Linked DNA regions of Homo sapiens: region 2 is linked to region 1. The links are contacts of gene promoters, found by promoter capture Hi-C in blood cells and fetal thymus (Javierre and others, 2016). All regions are on one chromosome and are shown on one strand. The core of a region is centred on a gene start or on the middle of the fragment in contact, and the rest is flanking DNA. Distances in the headings are between cores, read along the strand shown.

What was found. The method cuts DNA at HindIII sites, captures the fragments that hold promoters and counts their contacts. A CHiCAGO score of 5 or more calls a contact.
Region 2: a contact is called between a fragment that was not itself captured here and the fragment with the promoter of GTF3A in region 1, in 6 of 17 cell types (erythroblasts, M0 macrophages, M1 macrophages and 3 more). The highest score is 7.4, in erythroblasts.

The regions. Positions count from the first base shown.
Region 1 is chr13:27,423,369-27,429,128 of GRCh38, reverse strand. GTF3A (general transcription factor IIIA) reads right to left here and starts at 4,510. Exons shown (of 9, transcript NM_002097.3): 1 at 4,191-4,510; 2 at 1,937-2,037. The coding sequence starts at 4,391. RefSeq lists silencers at 712-1,092, 4,166-4,245, 4,346-4,405, 4,416-4,685 and enhancers at 2,836-3,055, 4,006-4,075. The HindIII fragment of the contact is 2,756 bases long and covers 4,226-5,760 here.
Region 2 is chr13:27,962,721-27,968,480 of GRCh38, reverse strand. It overlaps CDX2 (caudal type homeobox 2), which reads left to right. Exons shown (of 3, transcript NM_001265.6): 1 at 1-15; 2 at 3,466-3,611; 3 at 5,112-5,760. The coding sequence ends at 5,366. Among named protein-coding and RNA genes, the nearest start is that of CDX2, 3.7 kb to the left of the region's middle. RefSeq lists enhancers at 1,316-2,007, 2,008-2,699. The HindIII fragment of the contact is 4,180 bases long and covers 811-4,990 here.

The DNA of each region.
Region 1 (5,760 bases), core at 3,261-5,760:
GGCACAGCACAGAGGCCCACAAATGGGAGGGGCGCTGTGGCAGAGACCCTAGAAGCCCCCCTAACTGCAGGGACAGAATGCTGAGTGTTAGCTGGGCAGGTGGCCGACAGAAAGTGCACTCTCCGGCCTCCCCTGCAATTAGGGCGGCTCATGGCTGAGTCCAGCCCATCCTGCTCAACCCCCACAAAGTCTCTAAATAAGGGGGCATGCCTCTTATGCCCTTTCCTCCTTCCTGCCAGTGGCATGCTTATGTGACAGATGGGCCCAAACAGGCATCACAGTGAGGTTAAAGCCCAAGATGAGGATGGCAGAGACCAGTCAGAAGAGGCTCCAGAGCTCCTGCCTCTGTATTTCTGTATTTCAGTCGCACAAGACAAAGAGCCCATCTTGTTTAAGCATCTCTTGTGCTGGGGTTCCTGCCATTCTTCACTCTAAACCTGACACAGGCATCTAACCCAACCGGGTATGGGATAGGAGGACAGGCCAGGAAGAGTCCTGACAAGACCCAAGTGGGCGTGAGAGACCCCGGCACACTTGGAGAGGGGGCTGGTTAGTTAGCACAGCTGGACCACAGCTTCATGCCTGCAAGTCAAGCAAATGGGGCAAGATAAGCAGAAAAGGGCTAAATCACGCAGGTCATTGTAGGACACACTTGAAACCTGGATTTCACATGTAGGCCGTGCTTGAAAGCACTGCACAGCTTTAAGGGAAGCACACGGGAGGGCACTGGGGGAGAGGGCTGGCCTGCAAACTGTCATTCCAGCCAGAGGAAGGGACCGAGATAAGACAGTGGCTGCTGGATCTGATGGGTCAGTTACAGGATCTGGCAACCCACCTGTTGCAAGGGATGGGAGAAAGAATGGAGAGTCCAGGGAGCTGCCTTATCTTTGCTATGGGTCACTGGACAGACAGCGAGGCCACCTCTCCAGACAAGAACATGAGAGAAGATCAAACAGAAAAGTGAGCTCAGTTTGACTGTGACAAATTTGGGCCATGTGGAATTTTTTATTTATTTATTTCTTTAATAGAGATGGACCTGACCATCTTGCCCAGCCTGAACTCCTGGCCTCAAAGCAATCCTCCCACCTCAGCCTCTCAAAGTGCTGGGATTACAGGCATGAGCCACCACACCCAGCCTACCACATGGAATTTAAGAAGACACAGAGATAGCCAAGTAGCACTGTCCAGCGAGCAGTGGGAAACGGGGAACTACAGCTAAAGAGGGGCAGGGTCTGGGTTAGATCATGAGCTGGAAGAGTCATGTCCAGTAGTTCCTGGTTGCATGGCATTTCCTACCATCCCCACCCCCTACTTGGCCAGGATCCCCCACTGCTCCCAAAACAGATGACATTTTTAGTTTTGTTATGTAACTTTTAAGACTTCTTTACAAATAGGAACAAATACAAATATAGTTGCTTCCTGCCTACCCAACACCCACTACTCACCCCTCCCCCTACCCCCTAGCTTTTTTACACACATAAAAGTAGCCTAAAGAGGACTCTTCTGCACCTTGGTTTTTCAATTAAAGTGCCCTGGTGATTTTCTCATGGCTTTGCAGAGAGCATCTGCATTCATTTTCCTGGCTGTAGGGTATCCCATTGTGTTGATATACTTTAGCTTGTCCCCACCCATGAGCATTTTATGTTAGCTCAGCCTCCTGGGTAGCTAGGATTACAGGCACAAACCACCATCCCTGACTAATTTTTGTATTTTTGTACATACGGGGTTTCACCATGTTGCCCAGGTTTGTCTCAAACTCCTGGGTTCAAGTGATCTGCCCATCTCCGCCTCCCAAAGTGCTGGGATTACAGGCATGAGCCACCGAGCCCTGCCAGGCTTCACATTCCTGATCTCGTGAGTTAACATCAATCTTCTTACTGGGTCTATATGCCCAACACAACCCACTTCAAAAGCCTAAAAACAGGTCTCTACTTACACAAACGGCTTTTCTCCTGTGTGAGTCAGAATGTGGCGGCTCAGATGGTAGTCCCTGATGAAGGCCTTGCCACACCCTTCATAGTCACAAACAAATGGTCTCTAGCAGGAAAAAAGAAAAAGCATGTCACTTCTGCACTAGTTAGTAACTCTGGTATTATTTAAAAGCTTAAACTGCCTAGTGTTAAGGCCACAGGCTTCCTATGAAGAGGTGGTTTCTACTCAGAGCTGTGCACCCACTGCAAGACGCAGTGTTCCTGCACAAAGTTACACAACATAAACATCACAACTTCTCACAAAGTCACTACACAGATTTTTGTTCCATGAACAGCATTTAAAATAAGCAGGCATAGCATTTTTAACCTGCTCCCAACCCGGCAGCAGGCTTTCACAGCAACCCCCTCTTAAAGACGCCCTGGCTGTTAGCATGGCTTGTCTGCATGGATCCCCACCACCGCATGATTTAACATGTAAAAAAGCAAGCCTAGGGCAGAGGAACGAGGGAGGCCTGTCTCATCCCAGACAAGCCCAGGGTCTGTGCTAGGATAATGCCAAGCACAGCTATAGGAAAGTGTGTCACACCTGAAAAAGCTCACAGGTGCCAGGGCGAAGCAAAGAAAACAGCTCAACACCCTAAATGCAACCACCTTTTGTAACCCAGGAGTTGGGAGGGGGTGACTCATTTTGAACCTATAGTAAAAGCCAAACACACACCCCAAATAACCAAATAACCAGTTTGGTGCATCAAACTATGAAAAGCATACTACCAAGGCGTCCAGGAGGGAGGCACCGAGGCCTCCATGAGAGTACTAGGAGCAAAACAAGCAAACAGGAACACAGTGAGCTACATACCACCAGGGGCGGAGCCACAGAACCTTGCACAGCGGCAGGCGTGGAGTAGGCTCAATAAACATTTGTCAAATTAATCTGCATGAGAGATCTGGGACAACAAAGATGACTCCAAGTTTTTCAACCTGTATTAAGGAAACTGGTAGCGCCAGTATCCAAAATACAGCACACCGGTCTAAAAGGAAAGGCAAGCTCTTACGTGGATCTACTGGTAATACAGAGCCCAGAATTTAGAGGCTAGAACGGGCAAGAGGAAGGGCAGAGGGGCAAAGCATAAAGGATGTTATGAGTCATGCCGGTGGCTATGTAAGACCGCAAGAGGGAGCTGGGCGGGGTGGAACATGCAGAGGGCAGAAGAGGATCCAACGAAAAGGGCAGACGAGGAAGAGGAAAAGAACCAGAGAAGGTCTCAAGGAAGAAGCGGTCGGCCTTCCAGTGCTGGAGAGGTTAAGGAATGAGGCCCCGGAGGACACCTGGAGAAGGTGGCCCATAAATTAGAGGAGGTGCAAGGGGCAAAGGTATGGACTGCAGCCCAGTGGTTTAAGAAATTAAGGGCTTTAAGCTGAGGCAGTGTGAAGCCTAGCTCTGCCAAAAACTGGGAAGCTGGGCAGATTCCTTGACCTCCATGACCCTCGTTTTCCTCACTTGTGTGTGACATGGGCTGCCACGTCATATCATGGTATCTGACATTCTCCTGCCCTCAAAATAAAATCCAAACTCCTAATGGGCCTACTTCTCAGACCTCATATGGTGATCTCCGCACCCAAACACACCCACCTGCCTCCCACCCCAAGGGTCACAGGCTCCCTTTGTGTTCTCTCTACCTAGCACAAATGTCTGCATGGCTAGATCCTTCCTTCTTACACGGCTCACACAGAGAGGCCTTTCCTGACCACAACACTGCATGTCATTCCCACCTATCCTGTGGTCGGCTCGACCCAGGAACAAAGGTCCATGGCAGCAGAAACCTTGGGTTTGCCTGTTTTGCTCACTGCTCTCTCCAGTGTGGAGTTACGAAGAAATGAGCACATGCTGCTTTCACGACCCCTGGTACATGTAACCCATCTTCTGTACCAGCTCCAGGGGCCAGTGTTTGGCAGGTGTCTAGTAGCGGTGGGCCCCCTCAAACCTCACACTTATTTGCAGATTACGGGAGGCACTTGGCTGGCCGAGACTCACGATCAATGACTGCTTAGTAAATCCCGAGCCCCTGCCATGGATATCAAGGTCGCAGAACGAAGGTCCTACAACTTCCTGTCTACTTCCTCAGCTCCTTCCCCAAGTCCTGGATGTCAAAGCTGAACGCGCTGCACAGCGGGGCCTGCGGCCCTGGCCACGACTGCAGTGGCTACCCCGGGGCCACGCGCCATCCCTAGGCCCAGGGTTGGCAGCCTCGCCCCCCTCACCTCCCCCGTGTGCTTGCACAGGTGCGCGTCAAGCTTCCAGGCTTTGCTGTAATTGGCGCTGCAGTCAGGGAAGGAGCAGATGAACCTCCTGGGAAGCGCGGGGCGCGGCGGGGTCGGAGCTGAGCTCTCGCCGGCTGCAATGAACGCGTCGGCGATGGTCAAGGACGACACCGACTCGGCGACCACGGCCGGCGGATCCAGGGCGCCGGCGCCTCCAAGCCCAGGGCCAGGCGCGCTGCCACGTGCCGAGACACGTGCCGGGAACCGGCGCGCCCGGCCCACGGCTCCCTGCTGAACCTTCGCGCGACGCCGGCACACTTCCGGGAGCGCGCGCGGTCACCAGGCACCGCCCCGCGTCGGCGCCGCTGCTGCGCATGCTCCGGGAGATCGCGCATGCGCCAGGAGGCCCCGCCGCGGCTCGCGGCCCGTGCCCTGTCAGCCCTGGATGAGAGGCGGGGGTTTCTGCGTCCTCGGCAGAAGGCTGCTGCGTTTCACAGGCAACTCAAATCCCGAGGCACTGCTTAAATGGGGCTTGTTTCCCGTCCTCCAGTACACTCTGGAAAGCACTAGCCTTACATAATTTAAGTTAGCCTGTTGCCACATTACTAGTGTGACCTGTGTGGTTTCGTTTCTTTGCGTGCTTTACGTGCTTCTGCTGCAAGCCCCAGTTCAGAGGTTCCTAAGCTCAGATTCACGTGGAGAGCTTTACAAAATCCCGAAGCCTAGAGGATACTTGGACCACTTAAATCACAATTTCTGGGGGTAGGAAACAGGCATCAGTATTTTTGGAAACTTCCTAGGTGATTTCAATGCGCAGAAAAGTTTGGGAACCACTATCCTGGCACAGTAGTGCGCACCTGTAGTCCCAGGTACGCGGGCGAATCGCTTGAGCCCAGAGTGAGACCCCGAGCTCTAAAAGAATAAATACAGATGTCTCCCCATCCTACCCTTCCCCACCCCGGCAAACTGACCAGGTGGTTGGAAAAAAAAAAAAAAAAAAAGGAAAAGTTTGGGAACACTGCCCTAGAGCCTTGATGACCTACTTGAAACAAATCTCCAGGTGATTCAGTGCATATCAAAACCTGAGAAGCACTTTTGAGAGGCCTGAATGAATATGAGTATCTTAGTTTATGAGGACCACATGCCTAAAAAATGTCCTTGGATACAGATAACTGGCAGGATGACTTGGGGGATGTTCGCCAGATCCATATTTTTCACATCCTGCATTATTCCGAATCATTAAGCCCTTGTCGGAATGTGATGAACAGGTCCCTGCACAGCAGTGCAGTTCTGGAAACAAGCCAGGGCTTAACATCAGTGCTTATGAACTGAGTATTCCAGTTCATAAACACTCCTTTGCCTCAGTCTGCTCATCTTGAAAGTGGGAAAGTTGATAACGCCTGTGTCATCCTCCGTCTCAAGATAACGGGGCTGTGAGAGTGTCTATGCCTTGGGTCCACCTGTTGCTTTCTTCATTTGCCACTCTAGCCCCTGTCCATGGATGGGAGAATTCTACACTCATCCCTCCCACAACTCCGGAATTCTAAAATGGTTTCTCTTGCGCCAGTTC
Region 2 (5,760 bases), core at 1,651-4,150, 540 kb before region 1:
CCCTCGGCAGCCAAGGTAAGCAGAGGCTGCGCCCCTTCGGAGGGTGCTTGGGAAGGCGCGGGTCGAGCCAGTGGCTGCTGCGCGTCGCGCGTCCAGTGCGCACAGGGGCGTCCCGGGCTGTCTGGGAGCTCGGCGCCAGGAGGGGCACGGCCCGGAGACAAATTCGGGGGCCTCTGGCCCGTCGGGGCTTCTCTGACCTACTGAGCCTGGGAGTGAATATTCTGAGTCTCAACACCGTGTTCAGGCGTCCTCTTTCCAAGAGCTCCTCATTCGCAACCCCGGGACACCTTCGGGAAGCTCCGGGGAATGTCGGCGTGAGCACTGCTGGACGCCGGCAGAATCGCGTCCTCCGGCACTTGCTGCGGCATGCATTCCTTGCGTGGCTCCTGGCCGCCGAGGAGAGAGGGAGGCTCGAACCTTCTTGGGCTAGGTCTAGGCCATTTATCTCCGCTCTCTCTTTCCCCATCTGAGCCATCTAAGAAGAGAAGTGACCTGGGGGGGTCGGAGGATGGCTAGGCTGTGTGTGGGACCGGGTTTGGCCACTCGGGCCAATTCAAGGTACAGCGAGCAGGCAGACCAGGGAGAGCTGCTGTCGCTGGGAAGAAGGTGCTAGCCCCAGCTGCTAAGGCGACGGGGGCGCGCCCCGTCTCTGAACCTCTGACCTGTGAAGGGGTCATTTCAAGCAAAAGCTGGAAGGCTAGGGGCAAGAAGCCTAGGGGCAGGCGTCTGCGGAGAGAGCAGGGAGACGGGGAGGAAACCCTGGTGGGAATTAAGCCGCCGCTCCAGGTAGGGGTCATTTCTCCCAAAGCTTCCTTTCAAGGGTGTCAGGGATGTCTGTGAGTGTGTGTGTGCAACTGAAAAAGATCCTAGGTTTGCCGGACTGTGGGGCTCATTGACTCTGGGTCTGCCCCTTCTGGTGTTCGAGTGTGCCTAGAGGTGGCAAGGAAGTGCGGTGGGGAGAGTCCTAGTTGAGTGCCCCTTTTAAAGTCTTTCCCCAGCCCTCAGCGCTTCCGCTTTTCTTGCTTCGCTCCTTGATGCCCCAATTGGGCAGGCACGCTGGTTATGGGCACTTTGCAGAAGTTTATAGCCAATTACAACTGTATAAATCAAAGCGCCCTTTGGGGGCTGTCTCTGGGCATCGGTTTCTGCGTCACTGTGCACATGCTAGGGAGAGTCCTGGTGGGAATGCCGCCGACCGGGGAGAAGGCCACAGATCAGCCTCGGGTGAGCCTCAGAGCTTTGGCTTGGTCCCTTCTCCTAGAGGAGGCGCCTTTCTCCTAGCAGGGGCTCCCAGATCCTGGCTCCCAAAGACCCACTTTCTACAGCCCCTGTCTGGGGCGCGGTTGGCGGGGGTGGCGCACGCCCTAAGGAAGACCTTTGCGTGTCCCGGGAGAGCGGCCGCGGGGTGAGGGCCGGGAAGGGGGCGGGAGGGAAGCCGCCAGAGCCCAGGCCGCGGGGTCAGCAGATGAGAGGCCGCTGTGAAGTCCTGCGCCGAGGTGGCAAGGCCGCAGTCGGCGCCGGGTGCCCTTGTGATGTTAATGTGGGGTGGCCGCAGCCCGCGGGCCGGAGCCGGGCTCCTCTGCGGAGCGTCATCTGTCAAGGTGTGGGGGTGGAGGGGGGGACGCGGCCTGGCTTGCTTTGATATACACCTTCCCAGCCCTGCCATTGTCTCTTTTAGGGCCCGGAAAGAGGGTGGTGACTTTCGCAGTCAATAATGAATTCTGACAAGTCCCTCTCATCCCTCCCCTCCATAGCCCCGCTCCTAGGTTCCCAGGGGGTGTGGGGCGCCTCCAAGGCCCTTGGGGCATGGGTCGAAGAGCGCTCAGGGTCTGGTCATCGCGTTGCCCGGCACGTCCGGGACACTGAAGGGGCAGCACCCGAGCAAGGGTCGCTCCGAGACACTTCCAGGCGAGTCTCCCTCCCGGGGTGTTCGGCTGAGGGAACTGCCCTGCGCCTCAGCTCCGGAGGTGTCCTCTGTGGCTCCAGCCAGGCTCCGGTGCCAACCCCGCCTGATACTATCTGCGTGACCCGGTCTGATTCTCCATTTCCTCATCTGTAAAAAGGGGCGAGTACCAATGGCAGCCTGGAGTGGGTTTGAGGCGGTCACGCGTGTCCGAGCGTCCACCGCGGAGAAAGTCGCGTTAGTTCCCTTTACTTTCATAGCAGGCGCGGGGTCGGGGCCGCAGCCCCATTCAAATGCGCCTGCAGGGTCGTGTTTATGTTAATGCGCCTGGCGGGGAGGGGGATGAAAGCCGGGGCCGCCATTTGCTCAGTAGTGGTAATTCAAACAGAATGTGGTTGTTATTAAGGCATTGAAAGGGCTTTTCTTTGATAAGATCGCCTTGTCCTGCATTGTTTGCGGCTGTGTTGGCCTTTCAGCGGCTCGGGGGAGCTCCCTCTGATCAGGCCTGTATCTTCCCAGGACGCTTTTGTTGTGGTTTGCAAAGGGTTTTACCTGAACAAAGTCAGCCTGCGGGGCATTAAACACCTCCAGGCAACTCCCAGGCCCTTCAGATCTTTCTGTGGGATTGGGCACTGGGCGATTGAACCTGTTCAGCTGCAAGAAGACCCAAAAGTGGGACGGAGCCAGAGAGAACAGCTTCTGGCCAGGGCTCTGCCAAGGGCTGAGCCAAGACAGACCTGGTGGAGACGCCAGGCTCGGGCCTGCTCCAACATTGTGGACACTATTTGTCAAGGCCCTTCAGTAAAACAATCAATCTGGGATTTAATATGTTGACTCAATCCAATGAGCATAGATCACTGGTCAGGATAACTCTGGCCGGATTTGCAGCAGGAATAAATGGAGGATCAAAAAAGAAAAAGTACCAAACGCCAAACCTGGTCTGGGCAGGTATAAAGTGTCCCCAGCAGGAGGGGTTTTCTGCCTGTTCCCTCGGCCAGAGCCCAGCTCAGAATTCCACCTGATGGGCCTGGTGTGTCTGGGGGATGATTCTGGCGACTTGTCAGCTCCTGAGCCCCGCTTTCCACTTGTAGTAAAGCAAAGTAGTAACCCCCACACCCCCTCTACAACATGTGCCCACAATGACAGCTGTTTTCGGGGTGGGCTTCCATCTCTGGTAGGCCTGGAAATCTGGATGCTTCCAGGATCCCGGCCACTTCACCCTGCCCCCTTTCCCTTGGTGTCAAATATATGCCAGTACTGTATTTGGTTTACCGAAAGGGTGGTTACATTCTGCTGTCTTCTGTGTGAATGAGGTTTTCACTTTCCTTAATTTTTAAAAACCACTTAATACCAAGGTTAGTTTAGTTGCCTCCACTAGCCTCATACCCTCCCCCCACAGGACCCTCTGGGGGGTCTTGTCAGACTTGGCAGGAACCAGCCAAACCCGGGCCCCCCAGGGTGGTGGAGGAAGAGAAATGTCCCTGGGTTAGGGAGGTTTGTCATTACCCATGACTGATGGGCTGCCTTGCAGTTCTCAGCCCTCACTTCTCCTTCCTCCACAGTGAAAACCAGGACGAAAGACAAATATCGAGTGGTGTACACGGACCACCAGCGGCTGGAGCTGGAGAAGGAGTTTCACTACAGTCGCTACATCACCATCCGGAGGAAAGCCGAGCTAGCCGCCACGCTGGGGCTCTCTGAGAGGCAGGTGGGGACCGCCTAGCTCCCTCCGGGCGGGCCACTGCCTGGCAGAGGACCATGAGAGTTAGAAAATCTGGCTGCAGGGGCCATCTAAATCTGTGGAGAGACTGAAGCAGGAGGATGCAAGCATTCGTCTTTGGAGTCCTTTTTTTTTTTTTTTTTTTTTTTAAACAGAGATGGGGTCTTGCTTTGTGGCCCAGGCTGGAGTGTAGTGGCACAATCATAGCTCACTGCAGCCCTGACTTCCTGAGCTGAAGGGATCCTCCTGCCTCAGTCACCTGAGTAGCTTGGACTACAGGCTCGAGCCACCATGACTGGCTAATGTTTAAATTTTTTGCAGAGATGGTCTCACTGTCTTACCCAGGTTGGTCTCAAACTCCAAATGCTCCTCCTGTCTTGGACTCCTAAAGTGCTGAGATTACCGGTGTGAACCACCATGCCTGGCCTGGAGTACATGCCCCCCCACCCGCCACCGTCGAAACGCAGTTTCACTCTTGTTGTGCAGGCTGAAGTGCAATGGCGCGGTCTCAGCTCACTGCAACCTCTGCCTCCCGGGTTCAAGCGATTCTCCTGCTTCAGCCTCCCAAATAGCTGGGACTACAGGCATGTGCCACCACGCCCGGCTAATTTTGTATTTTTAGTAGAAATGCGGTTTCTCCATGTTAGTCAGGCTAGTCTCGAACTCCTGGCCTCAGGTGATCCACCCGCCTCGGCCTCCCAAAGTGCTGAGATTACAGGTGTGAGCCACTGTGCCTGGCCCTGGAGTACTTTTTTAAAAAGCCTCCTTCTACCTTTAGTCCTCTTTTTTTGATGTTGTTGATTTTTTCTGTCTCTCTCTTTTGAGGGATATAAGAAGTGTGAAAAACAGCCAAGGGTATTAGTTTAATCCAGAATTCCATTTGGGTCTATAAAGACATATTAAAGACCTATTCTCTTTGTTTCCAGCACTGTACCTAAGAAAATAAACTGAATAAAGTACTCAGTCTCTCACAAAAACTAGAGGGACAAGACTTGGTTCATGAACATTTTATATATATAGTCTAGAAAAACAGGCCAACTTCACAGCCAGGAAGCCACAAAATTAAATCTCATTTTCAGCTCTAAGGTGAGGAAAATTACGTTTTAGTTTAGCCTTGAGGGGCCAAAGGTTGCCATTTGAAGTATACCACCCAGCACTGGCCTCCCTTTGCTGTGTAGAAAGGGCCTTGCAGTTTCAGTTTTCCTTGGTTCTGAGACTTTAAACTTTTGCAGTAAATACGTAGATAAAAGTTGCTTTGAAAAGAAACTCAGGGAGCAAGGAAGGAGGAAGACTCTTCCCCATGAGGCTGAATTGGGCCTAAGAATGGATCCAGGGTTGGGCTGTTATGGGGATGCCCGAGGAAAGCTTCTAGAAGGACTTGGAGTTCTGTAGCTGGAGCAGAAGATGTTGATGATACTGCTGGGTACTGTTCCTCTTTTCCCTCACATCTTCACCACAATGTGCTTTTCTCCACCTTTCCATTTCTAGGTTAAAATCTGGTTTCAGAACCGCAGAGCAAAGGAGAGGAAAATCAACAAGAAGAAGTTGCAGCAGCAACAGCAGCAGCAGCCACCACAGCCGCCTCCGCCGCCACCACAGCCTCCCCAGCCTCAGCCAGGTCCTCTGAGAAGTGTCCCAGAGCCCTTGAGTCCGGTGTCTTCCCTGCAAGCCTCAGTGCCTGGCTCTGTCCCTGGGGTTCTGGGGCCAACTGGGGGGGTGCTAAACCCCACCGTCACCCAGTGACCCACCGGGTTCTGCAGCGGCAGAGCAATTCCAGGCTGAGCCATGAGGAGCGTGGACTCTGCTAGACTCCTCAGGAGAGACCCCTCCCCTCCCACCCACAGCCATAGACCTACAGACCTGGCTCTCAGAGGAAAAATGGGAGCCAGGAGTAAGACAAGTGGGATTTGGGGCCTCAAGAAATATACTCTCCCAGATTTTTACTTTTTCCCATCTGGCTTTTTCTGCCACTGAGGAGACAGAAAGCCTCCGCTGGGCTTCATTCCGGACTGGCAGAAGCATTGCCTGGACTGACCACACCAACCAGGCCTTCATCCTCCTCCCCAGCTCTTCTCTTCCTAGATCTGCAGGCTGCACCTCTGGCTAGAGCCGAGGGGAGAGAGGGACTCAAGGGAAA